Linked DNA regions of Homo sapiens: region 1 is linked to region 2. Evidence: promoter capture Hi-C in human tissues and cell types (Jung and others, 2019). All regions are on one chromosome and are shown on one strand. Each heading gives the region's core, a stretch centred on a gene start or on the middle of the fragment in contact. The rest is flanking DNA. Distances are from core to core; before and after follow the strand shown. Region 1 overlaps MSANTD2-AS1 (MSANTD2 antisense RNA 1). Region 2 holds the start of MSANTD2 (Myb/SANT DNA binding domain containing 2).

Region 1 (6,731 bases), core at 2,534-5,033, 34 kb before region 2:
ATGCGTGTCAGGGGTGCTTTCCGCGGATCTGGAAGGGAGTGAAAAGAGCTGGAGCTGCACCCAGGTGGGGTGGACACAGCCCTATTTATCTTATTTGCTCTGGGTACTGTAGGGATTCTTCTCTAGTGTCGCTTTAATTGAAGACTGAGTCTCCCATCTGAAGATCTTGTGACCAAGGGTGATTGGAGGGTCAGTGTCCACAAAGCTGGTGCTCAGTTGGCAAAAACCTCTGCCACCTCCCTTTGTGGCTGTTCTCTGCTCCCTCTAACACTCTGGGCTGGACTGGGTAACTAGATTGGCTTCTAGGACCCATTGCTTCTCCCCTTAGCTCCCACTCCGACAAGTCTCCCTGGTCTGTGCCCAGAGGATCACCCTAAGACTAGAGCAAGCTTGTGCAACCCACGGCCCATGGGCCGCATGCAGACCAGAACACCTTTGAATGCGGCCCAACACAAATTCATATATGTTCTTAAAACATGATGAGGTTTTTTGCAAAAAAAAAAATTTTTTAGCTAGTGTATTTTATGTGTGGCCCAAGACAATTCTTCTTCCAATGTGGCAGGGAAGCCGAAAGATTGGACACCCCTGGACTAGAGATTCACAGCTTGCATGAAAATCACCTGGAGGCCTTATTAACCCTGCCCTACAGTTTCTGATTCCTTTGATCTGGGGTACGGGCAGAGATATTGCATTTCTGAAAGTTTCCCAGGTGGTGACAGTGGTGATACTGGGGGCCACACTTTGAGAGTACTGGCCTACAAGGAAAGGAAAATAGGGGCAGGTGAAAAAAGGAAGGAGCTGAAGTCTTCAGTGCTGGAGGAGGTTACTGGAAGCTGAAGCTCTCCAGGGTACTTGGGTATCTTCACCCTCTGTGAGGGATCCATAGGCCAAATCCCCAAATAATTGTGGACATATTCCAGAATTCATATTCTAGTATTCGAGTGTGTGTGTGTGTGTGTGTGTGTGTGTGTGTTTCTGAAGACTTAGCACTCCCCCTAATGGCTTCAGATGATTCTGCACTCTCCTCAGCCTTTCAACGGGAAGCAAGAATTACTCTTATTTTCCCAGCCTAACTTGGTTATCCACTCCCATCTCTTTGTCACTGATGGAGCGGGGCATTGTCTTACACATTTGTTTACAAATTGAAGAGCATAGTTTTTTTTTACACAATAGTTTGTGTACTAATGAATGAATTAGTGCTATCTTTCCTCTTTAGGAGAACCTTGTTCTCCTAAAATCTACCTTAAGTCACATTTGAAGTGTTGTAGAACCACCTACCAGTGTTCTAAAACACTTCAAATGTGTTCATAGGGAATGAGTTCCAGATGGTTGCCTAAAAATTCTCCCCAAGGTGTCGGTGCCGTTGTCATCAGTTGGGAACTTTTGGCTGGCGGCAAGCACAACCCGAGTCAGAGGTTAAGGATGGATTTGCAAAGTGGAATTTTTAAGTGTGGTATATGGACAGATCAGATGAGAAAATCAAGTGGCATTTTATTTCTCACCACCAGGTGGCAGACCTAACCTCATTAATGAGAATCATCCCTAGACTTGAAGCCTGGCCTGAATTCTACTTTTTTCATATATGAGCCAGGGCAAAAGAGCTGTTTCTCTACTTAAATGACTCAGAAATTTGGGGTAGGGAGAACAATGCTTGAAAATATCTTTGTAGGCCGCGGTGGCTCACGCCTGTAATCCCAGCACTTTGGGAGGCCGAGGCGGGTGGATCACGAGGTCAGGAAATCGAGACCATCCTGGCTAACACGGTGAAACCCCGTCTCTACTAAAAATACAAAAAATTAGCCGGGTGTCGTGGCGGGCGCCTGTAGTCCCAGCTACTTGGCAGGCTGAGGCAGGAGAATGGCGTGAACCCGGGAGGCGGAGCTTTGCAGTGAGCCGAGATCGCGCCACTGCACTCCAGTCCGGGCAACAGAGCGAGACCCCGTCTCAAAAAAAAAAAAAAAAAAAAAGAAAATATCTTTGTAACTGCCGCCAATGTACTTGAGTAATCCCTTGAGCTTCCTGATCCGTGAGGAAGGGCTCGCTGATACTTTTTTTTCCTTCTGGAAAGAGGGAAAACATATGGATGTAACAAAATGGGTTACTTAAGAAAAATGTAAGCGATCTAACTTCTAACCAGAGGTTTCTGCCAGGGCATAAACACATGGCAGCCCTAAACAGCTTTGCAGGCACATGGCTTCCTTCACTTCCAGCCCGTCTGGCAGGCACCCTCTTAATTCCTACCAACTTAATTCCTACCACCCGAGTTCTTTGTTCTGTCGCCCATATTGAAGTTTCCTCAAACTAAAAATGAAAGCTTTATTATAATTCTGGAATCTACTCAGGGCCTTCTTAACTAAATTCTAACTTGCAGTATACGGACATGTAGTTGATCTCTCCTTTATCCCAAATGATCTTGACCCTCAGATCATAGTCAACGTATAAATTAAATTCAACCTAAATTATATAACTATAGCAAGGGTTACACACACACAGCAAGAATGCAGGACGGGCGCGGTGGCTCATGACTGTAATCTCAGCACTTTGGGAGGTCAAGGTTGGCGGATCACCTTAGATCAAGAGTTCAAGACCAGCCTGGCCAACATGGCAAAACTCCATCACTACTAAAAATATAAAACTTAGCCAGGTGTGGTGGCGTGTGCCTGTAGCCCCAGTTCTCAAGAGGCTGAGACACGAGAATCTGCTTGGGAACCTGGGAACCTTGAACCTGGAAGGCTGAGATTGTAGTGAGCCAAGACTGCACCACTGCACTCCAGCCTGGGCAACAGAGCGAGACTCTGTCTAGAAAAAATAATAATTATATATATATATATATCTTACAGGAGGGGTCAATGAATGTTTTGGGAGAAGGGCAGTGAAGATTTCTGTTCTACACACCTTTCTCATCTCAGGGCTATATTACAGCAGATTCTGACAGTATAGTAGCTTTCTTCACAATGTCAAGATCAGAGCAGATCTATACCTTACATAGAAGACAGAAAATTGACTATACCAACATCAGGTCCTCCAGCATAGGTGGGACATTACCTTTTCAGCCTGCAGGGCTTAGTACTTCTTTCAGCTGATCGGCTTCAGGCCTCTTCCTCATTTTGGAAAGGGCAAATCTCAGGTGCACACTGAAAATCTTAGACTAAGTAGCCTGGTACAGTGGCTCACGCCTGTAATCCCAGCACTTTGGGAGGCCGAGGAGGGTGGATCACGAGGTCAAGAGATCGAGAACATCCTGGCCAACATGGTGAAACCCTGTCTCTACTAAAAATACAAAAATTAGCCAGGCGTGGTGACATGCACCTGTACTCCCAGCTATTCGGGAGGCTGAGGCAGGAGAATCGCTTGAACCCAGGAGGCGGAAGCTGCAGTGAGCCAAGATCATGCCACTGCACTCCAGCCTGACGGCAGAGCCAGACTCCGTCTCACAAAAAAAAAAAAAGAAAATCTTAGACTAAGTAAAACCCTCCAGCCCAGAGTGCTTCTCTGCATTGGGCAATTCACTCTCACTGCCAGAGCTCCCTTATACACTTTAAATGCTTATAAATACACTAACAGACAGAGCCTATGGGAAACAATATAAGAGGATTGGATAGTAAGTATTTGGTTTTTTCTATGTAGTTTGTTAACAGAATCAGTCAAAATATATTTATGGAATGCCCACAGGCTACATAGCATGGTACTTCACCCTTCATTGAAAATCCATTAAAACAATTACTGGGTCATGCCTGGAAACTTTTTTCACAAAGGAATTTTCTTTAGTTGCTGGGTTGACAGGAACTAATTTGAGATGCAAAACTAACAACCCCATTTGAACTAGCAAGCCCTTATGTAAACCACTACAAGTGATATGTTTGAATTTATTCGCACCTGTGCCTGTATATATGGACTTAAAAGCTAAAGATATCGTGGTATTAATATGCATATAAGGGAAGGAGAGTTTTAAAAGTTAGTGAATCATCTTCCACTAATGCTTGGTAAATGTTTACCAAGAAGGTTGTGCCCTGGTTATAGGCCGGTAATGACCACCAATAAATAAAACTGTTTTCACCTCTATAACAGTTATGGAATGTCATTCCTTCTTGCCTTTCATACCAGGAAAACTAGGCTGAAGAAAAAAATCACTTCTTTTTAATCAAGGCAAAAACAGACTCACCCAACCAAAAACCAACCCTTGGTATTTGAAATTAGTTTATTAACATAGGGAGATTTCATATTTTTTTATTGTTTTCTCCCACCACTAACTTTAAGACTTTAACAACCTTTATTAGAATACACACACAGCTATATATATATATTTGGTTCTGTCTTCTCTAAATCATTTGTTTAACAAGGAATTTTTTTACTTAAGGCACTGGTATAGAAAATGTACCCCATTTCTTGCATATCTTGCATGTTATGGGGTCTTGTTAAGTGTTTCCAAGTTTGGTGGAATCACCACCATTTCTACCCCTGGTCCATATTTTTAGTTCCAGATCTTCTCTGCAACCACTATCCCAGTCCAAAACCCTCTACTGTATTCGCTGTCTTCTTAGTGCGGAGGAGAAAGAAAGAGCAGGGTTGGGCAGAGGGTCTTATTCTGCCTTAAAAGAAGGTTATACTTTCTGTCAAAGGATAGAACTCTGACTGACTTAACGAAAAATACAGTAGTATAAGTTTAGACCCAAGGTCAGATAGTCCTGGGGCTAAAGCTCAGATCCATCACTTAGCAATTATGTGATTTGCTGCAAGTCACCTAACTTCTCTGAGCCAAGGCTGCCCTTCTCACTTGTAAAGTGAAGCTTAAATAAGATAATACATATGAAAGGCTGGGTGTGGCAGTTGCACCTTAGTCCTTGCACTTTGGGAAGCCAAGGCCTGTGGAGCCCTTGAGCTCAGGAGTTCAAGATCAGCCTAAGCAACATGGCAGTAAGCTGTCTCTACAAAAAATACAAAAATATGCTGGCTGTGGTGGCATGTGCCTGTATTCCTAGCTACTTGGGAGGCTGAGGTCAGGAGTTCAAGACTAGCCTGAGCAACATAGTAACAACCCGTCTCTACAAAAAATACAAATATGCTGGTCATGGTAGTGCATGCCTGTAATCCCAGCTATTCAGGAGGCTGAGGTGGGAGGATCGCTTAAGCCCTGCAGATTGAGGCTACAGTGAGCTGTGTTAGTGCCACTGCACTCCAGCCTGGGAGATAGAGTGAGACCCTGTCTCAAAAAGAAAAAAAAAATGCACATGAAATGCTTAATGTCTGCCCTACTACAATGCATCAGAGAATAGAAGTTATTAGTATCTACCGGACCCAAACCTCTGTGAGAATAGAAGCTTGCTTCACTTCTGTTGCTTTGGGCAAAACTTCACCTGTGATCAAGAGAGTATGTGTGTGTGATACTGTGAAATATATATTTGGTCTTCTCCTGTCTCCTGACATATAGCTTCCCAAACCCTTGGAATCTCTAAAGCAACAGGAGTCTTTTGTATGCTAATGAGGTAAATGGTGGCCCAGCCATGATTAGAGGGCTGGGACTTTCAGCCCCACCCTCCAACCTCTGGGGAAGGGAAAGGATCTGAAGTTTGGGTTGGTCACCAGTGGTCAATGATATAATTATTCATGCCTACATAATGAAGCTTCCATGAAAACCCAAAAGGACAGAGTCTGGGGAGCTTCCAGATAGCTGAACACATGGAGGTGCCTGGAGGGTGGTGCCCTGGAGAGGGCATGGGAGCTCCGCACCCCTTCCCTGTGCATCTCTTCCAGCTGGCTCTTGATCTGTGTCCTTTGTAACATCCTTGTAATAAATGGGTAAGTGTAAGTAAAGTGTTTCCCTGAGGTCTATGAGTCACTCTAGCAAATTAATCAAACCCAAGGTGAGGGCCCTGAAAACCTCAATTTATAGTTGCTTGGTCAGAAGCACAGGTTACAGCCTGTGGTTATGACTGGCGTTTGAAGTGGGGCAGCCTTGTGGGACTGAGCCCGCAGCCTGTGGGATGTGACTGAGCCTGTCTCCAGGTGGAAGGTGTTAGAATTGAATTGGAGGATGCACAGCTGGTATCTGCTGGAGTTAGAATTGGAGGACGCATAGCTGGTATCTTCAGTTTTTTTTTTCTTGCCTCTTTAGTATGCATGTGCAAATACAACCGAAAACTCATTGATAGCTAAGCACAGTGGCTAGCACCTGTAATCTCAACACTTCAGGAGACTGAAGCAGGAGGATTGCTTGAGGCTAGGAGATTGAGACCAACCTGAGCAACACAGAGGGAGAGACCCAGTCTCTTTAATTTTTTTTTTAATTAGCCAGGTATGGCAGCGCATGGCTATAGTCCCACTTACTCAGGAGGCTGAGGCAGGAGGATCACTTGAGCCCAGAAATTCCAGTCCGCAATAAGCCATGATCGCACCATTGCACTTCAGCCTGGTGACAGAGCAAGACCCCATCAAAAGAAAGAAAGAGGGTGAGAAAGAGAGAAGGGGGAGTGGAGAGGAAGGGATGAAAGGAAGGAAGGAAAGGAAGAAAGGAAGGGAGGCAGAAAAGAAGGAAAGGAAAGGAAAAGAAGAGAGAGAGAAAGAAAAAGGAAGAAAGGAAGAAAGAAAGGAAAGAAAGAGAGAGAGAGAAAGAAAGAGAGAAAGAAAGAAAGAAAGAAAAAGGAGAAATCTCATTGAACCACCAAATCCAGGATATTGCAGCATAGGACTTTCTTTTCTGGGAAAAAGCTGTGTTTTGAGCAGGATTAAAAGAT
Region 2 (6,121 bases), core at 3,289-5,788:
GCCTTACAGATTGTTGTTCCAAATACCCATTGCTACGTACAAATACCCCAGAATTCAGTGGGTTAGAACATACAACAATAATTCATTTTGCTCACAAGTCTGGGGGGTGCCTGGGGTCAGCTAGGCAGCTCTCAGGATCTCCGGTATGGTTGTCGTCAGCTGGTGGCTGGAGCTGGGGTCACCTCAACACTTCTCCATTCACAAGTCTGGAGCCTGGATTAGGCAGAAAACCAACTGGAGGCTGGAATCTTTCTGGTTCACTGGCTATCTTTCTCGTTCTCTTTGTGGTCTCTCCGTGTACACTTAGGATAGCCTAACTTCTTACATGGTGGATGAAATGCTTCTGAGCAAGTATCTCAAGAGAAACTGCCAGAAGCTGCAGGGTATTTTCAAATCTAGCCTTGAAAGTCACAGTGTCACTTGTATCGCATTCGGTTTATCAAGGTAGTCACCAAGACCCACCCACATTCAAGGGGAGGAGATATAGACTCGATTAATTTCTTCCTGGGAGAATGTCAAACAATGTGCAGACATGTTTTAAAACCACCATAGGCATGGCAAAGAGTTTGGATTATATCATTCCAAGGGAAAGTCATTGGTGGATTTTTTTGTTTGTTTTTGAAACAGGGTCTTGCTCTGTCACCCAAGCTGGAGTGTACTGGCTCGATCATGGCTCACTGCAGCTTCAACCTCCCAGGCTCAAGCAATCCTCCCACCTCAGCCTACCGAGTAGTTGCAAGTACAGATGTGCACCACCATGCCCAGCTAATTAAAAAAAAAAAAACTTTTTGTAGAGACAGGGTCTCACTAGGCTTGGATTTTTAAAAAGAGAATGACGTGCAATGATATACAATTTTAATCAACTGCTCCATCAGGATTACTAGATACAAAATAAGATAATCAATTAGTATTTTTATATACCAGCAAAAAAATTAGAAATTAGCCAGATGTGTTGGTGCATGCCTGTAGACCCAGCTACTTGGGAGGTTGCAGCAGGAGGTTTGCTTGAGCCCCGGAGGTTGAGGCTGCAGTGAGCCATGTTTACACCACTGCACTCCAGCCTGGGTGACAGGGCAAGACCCTGTCTCAAAAGAAAAAAAATAGAAAATAAAATTTAAAAATGATACCACTTACAAAAACATTTTAAAAAATCAACTACCTAGGAACAAACTGAACAAAAATGTGTAAGACCTTTATGAAGTAAATAACGTAATTTTATTGAGAGACTAAAGGTTTATACCATTTCCAAGGACTCTACGGGTGATTACTGTACAAATGTCAGTTCTCAAATTGGTCCACAGATTCAATGCAATACCATTCAAAATAACCGCAGTTTTTTTCTGTAGAATTTGACAAATGAATTCTAAAATGTATAGGAGAATGCAAAAGATTAAGAATAGCAAGCTACTCTTGGAAGAGGAGGAGGAAAAGCAAGAGGGTGAGGAGGCACTTGCTGTATTCGACATAAGACTTACTATAAACTCACAGTAATTAAAGCAGTGTGATATTATTACAAGCAACACAAATAGAAAAATGGATAGACAAACAGATGAATGTAATAGAAGAGCCCAGAAACACACCCATGCATATAGGGACACTTGTTTTTGTTTTGTTTGTTTGTTTGGAGACGGAGTTTCGCTCTTGTTGCCCAGGCTGGAGTACAATGGTGCCATCTCGGATCACCGCAGCCTCTGCCTCCCAGATTCAAGCGATTCTCCTGCCTGTGGCCCTTTGGGGAGTCCAGACCTAGGAGCTCCCCGAACCAGGGCTCTTACACCCTCTTTGGGACTCTGCAGTTCCTGGTGTCGCCAAGCTTCTGGGAGCCACCACATTCCCTGGTACCATCAGCAGAAGCTGCTCGTGGTATGCCTGGTCCAGCCGCAACCTCACAGGGAGCCAGTGCCCATGCTGGCTCCTGGAGCTGCCCAACCTGCCATAGCTGATGTGCCTGGCTGTGGGCAGTGGCCAGACCCCACACTTGCTCGCTCATGCACCCCTTGCTGCTCTGTGCCTGGCTTACCCTTGGCAGGTGTGGGATCTGGGCTGGTAGCATGAGCTGAGTGCAGCCTGCCAGGCTGAGTGGGCAGAAGGAACCTAGTGGGCCCAAGCAAAACTTGGGCAAAGGCACCACCAGCCACAGAGATTTCTGGCTGGCAAAGCCACATCCCGAGGATCCCATGATAATAGGAGGAGGGGTTTTTGTTGTTGTTGTTTTTCAGACTTGTGGGACAATGACAGAAGGTTAAAGTGGTAATTTAAAAACTCTTTGGAGGGCTGGGTGCAGTGGCTCATGCCTGTAATCCCAGCACTTTGGGAGGCAAAGGTGGAGGATCACTTGAGCCCAGGAGTTTGAGACCAGCCTAGGCAACATGGTGAAACCCCATCTCTACAAAAAATACATAAATTAGCCGGGAGTGGTGGCACATACCTGTGGTCCCAGCTACTTGGAAGGCTGAGGTGGGAGGATCGCTTGAGCCTGGGACCAGAGGTTGCAGTGAGCTGAGATCACACCACTGCACTCCAGCCTCAGTGACAGAGTGAGACCCTGTCTCCCACACACACACACACACACACACACACACACACACACCCCTCTTTGGAATCTCTGATTTAGTATATGATTTAGGCACAACTCTCCCTTTCATACACACCAAATACCTTATGACATTAAAACATTTATCACTGGGCTGAATGAGAGTTAATTTTGTTTTGATAGATGTTTCAGATTCTTTTACAGTCCTCACACAATGTTTACTGTGAACCAGGCACCGTTCTAAGGACTTTACCTGTATTAATTCTCTCAACAATGCTGTGACGTCATCCTCATTTTACAGATGAAGAAAACAAGGCACTGAGAGCTTGGTTAAGTAACTTTGCTGAGGTCGCAGAACTGGAATTTGAAGCCTGGCAGTCTGACTTTAGAGTCCATATTCTTAACTGAGGTGCTAGACTGCATCTTTCTTTGGAAAAAAGGGAAGAGGATATCATAAATTCGGGAACTTCCTCAGGCTTCTTCTGTTAGCTTACAAACTATGGTTAGCATTTTCATATGACATACGAGAACAATTATCTCCTCCTCTACTTTATCCCTATTGCTTAATCCTTTGGCTTTTCAGTAACACCCAAAGACAACCAGTCATTCTCTCCAGTGAGTCTCAGAGTTAAAAATTTAGCTGTCTTCAATAAGAATGATACATTGGACTTTGGGGACTCGGGAGCTCAGGGGTAAGGGGAAGGCTAATGAGGGACAAAAGACTACACATTGGATACAGTGTACATTGCTCGGACGCACCAAAATCTCAGAAATCACCACTAAAAACCTTATTCATGTAACCAAACGCCACCTGTTACCCCCAAAAATCGATTGAAATAAAACAATAATTTAAAAAAGCACATACCCCCCAAAACATAGTTGACCTCAGCTTAAAAAAAACTAACATACATTTGTTATTTTAAAAAATATTGCATAGTTTATTTGCATTCATTGGTCAGCATCCTCAGTTATGTCTGCTTTGAAAGAAAAATCCGCTGAGGTTTTAAGTTAATGATCCAAGATATCCAATTAAGATTTTCAGCTTTGAAAAATATGGAAATACGGTACAGCTGTGTACTGGATGTGCTGTGCTACTGTTAAGTTCCAGCACTTTAAGGAACGTTTCAGGAGTGACTAATACACTAATTCATTACCAGAGGTCACAGAGCTGTCATAATTGACAGTGTTCTTTGAGTACGAAAAACCGGAAAACGATGCAACTTCCAAAGCACGGAGGATGGAGACTGGTATTGGAAAGTAACTTTTCTGCTGGGCTCAGGAGTTTTTATATGCTCAAGCTATAGACAACTGTACCAACGCAATAGACTAATGTAATCTAACTATTCTACAAACGGCCACACCTACCCAGACTAACTGGAAAACAATAGTTTATAACTGGAATTAAATAGTTGCTGTTCTTTAATTAATGAGATCGGTGTTCTTGAAAAGCTACAGCGTACGAACTCTACCCTGGTCCATATCTGCTTTTTAAAGCCTTCCCCAGAACCGCTCTCACTTCAGCCTTGGTGCCTTCCCGGATATACCCTCCAGAGGCTTCCCCGGTCCCCATCCTGGACGTCAGCCTCTGCACCTAGAGGCCGGCTTAGAGGGAAGACGGGCAGAGGCGGGGGAGACAGGAGAGAGAGAAACGGTCTATTCCTCCTTAACTCCGGGCCCCCTCGAGGGCCTCACCCCTCCTCCCGGGGGCTGAGATTGGAGAGGAAGTGGGAAGGCTCCAATCTGTTCCTCACTCCAGCGCCCTCATGCCCCCACCCTTCTCTTCAGCTCGGGGCTTCGGCGCGCCTCGTCCCCGCCCTTCGCCCCGGGAGAGGAGCGGGCGGCGTGGGAGGGCTCGCGGAGAAAGGCCCAGGGGAGTGGACGACCTCCGCCCGGCAGCCACATCCTCAGCAGCAGAGACCCGGAGCCATCCGCCCGCGGGCGAGCCAGGCCCGAGGGCAGCCCCGGAGACCGCGGTGGCCGGATGCGCGGGCGCGTCACTTCCGGGCGGTGCAGCGGCGGCCGCTTGGAAGATGGCTGCGCCCTGTGGCTCGGAGCTGCCCGCCAACTCGCCGCTAAAAATTCCGAAGATGGAGGTGCTTTCCCCGGCTTCTCCTGGTGGCCTGAGCGACGGAAATCCATCGCTGTCCGACCCTTCCACGCCTCGGGGTGCCTCCCCGCTCGGGCCGGGCAGTGCGGCGGGCTCGGGGGCAGCGGCGTCCGGGGGTCTCGGGCTGGGGCTGGGGGGCCGCAGCGCCGCCTCGTCCTCGGTCTCCTTCTCCCCTGGTGGCGGCGGTGGCGGGGCTGCGGCAGCCGCCGCCGCCGCCTGCCGGGGCATGTCGTGGACGCCAGCCGAGACGAACGCGCTCATCGCAGTGTGGGGCAACGAGCGGCTGGTGGAGGCGCGGTACCAGCAGCTGGAGGGAGCCGGCACGGTGTTCGGCAGCAAGGCCCCCGGGCCAGCCATGTACGAGCGCGTGTCCCGGGCCCTGGCCGAGCTGGGCTACGAGCGGACCCCGTCCCAGTGCCGGGAGCGCATCAAGGTAACCGGCCGCCCGGCCTGGGGCAGCGAACCAGAGGCAGAGAGAAGGCGGGGAAGCGGGCCTCGGGGGCGGGGGCCGGTCTGAGGGCAGGGCTCTCCTCCGGGGCCCGGTGGGCGATTCGCATCTCCTCCGCCTTTTTCTTCTCTCCCTGGGAAGGGGGCTTTTTCCCAGATGGCCGCCAGCCCGTAGGTTTCCTGAGTTTGAAGTTGGGCGTGCCTGCCGCCGCCCCTCTTTCTTGCCAATTGAGATGTTCCTGCGCTCTGAAGTTGGTAGTTTCTCATTGTGCGCCGTGCGGCAGTCCCCGTGCCGCTGGCGCCTCTTGCCCCCACCGCCGGGGCCCCTCGCTTTGTTCCAGGCGGAGGGGCTCCCAGGCAGAGGCTTACCGGCCGGGGCAGGATTGAGGAAGGGCAGAAGGGGGGGGCATTGAGCCCCTAGTTTAGGAATAGTTAATAAGTGGCCGTAGCGGAGCCATAGAAAAAGCGCCTTGGGACGACTGGCCTTTGTGTCAGTCGCTTTGCTTCTATCTTGAGCTACGAAGGACGAGTAAGACTAGAGATGCTTTGGAGAATTGGAAAGGCTTGATTGTAGCCAGATTGTGTATTGTTACCGCGGAGTTAGTGTACACCATAAAAGTTAGCTTGGCCAAGAGTTGGTCTGGAATTTGGATTGTCGATGCCTCCAGAGTTAGATTGGCTTGAGGCCCTGCGGTTTCTTAGGAAGCTCCTTCAGGAAAGCCAGTTTTTCCCTGCTTCAGTTTCTGTGCCGGATGTGGTGACAAGTAGAACTCTCAGTGTGCATCTGGCCGTCCTTGTGTACCTGCATGTTTAAATGCAGAGGCTTAATTTGGGCTAGAAATCTTAGCCAGGTTAAGATTTTGCTACTAGAACTGACTCTAGGCTTTCATATTTGTATTATTGGCAGATAAGGAGTTGTATTTTAGTTAAGCTCATTTCCTCATCGTAGTGGCTGCTAAAAAGATTGTGATAGGATTCTCCCAGTTTTTACTGAACTACTTATCCTATTATCTGTGCACTTCTTTTCTGATACA

Evidence for each region. The method cuts DNA at HindIII sites, captures the fragments that hold promoters and counts their contacts. A contact is called where the count stands out against the background at its distance.
Region 1: a fragment that was not itself captured here is called in contact with the fragment with the promoter of MSANTD2 in region 2 in 7 of the 25 tissues and cell types used here (H1 embryonic stem cells, IMR-90 fibroblasts, aorta and 4 more).

Annotation. Positions count from the first base shown.
Region 1 is chr11:124,831,937-124,838,667 of GRCh38, reverse strand. MSANTD2-AS1 (MSANTD2 antisense RNA 1) reads right to left here. Exons shown (of 5, transcript NR_103862.1): 5 at 4,181-5,782. Among named protein-coding and RNA genes, the nearest start is that of ROBO3, 30 kb to the left of the region's middle. The HindIII fragment of the contact is 4,862 bases long and covers 1,353-6,214 here.
Region 2 is chr11:124,798,823-124,804,943 of GRCh38, reverse strand. MSANTD2 (Myb/SANT DNA binding domain containing 2) reads left to right here and starts at 4,538. Exons shown (of 4, transcript NM_001308027.2): 1 at 4,538-5,073. The coding sequence starts at 4,564. MSANTD2-AS1 (MSANTD2 antisense RNA 1) reads right to left here and starts at 4,516. Exons shown (of 5, transcript NR_103862.1): 1 at 3,688-4,516; 2 at 2,787-2,960; 3 at 96-213. RefSeq lists silencers at 4,186-4,855, 4,896-5,135, 5,536-5,615, 5,846-5,895 and an enhancer at 4,352-4,959. The HindIII fragment of the contact is 9,762 bases long and covers 1-6,121 here.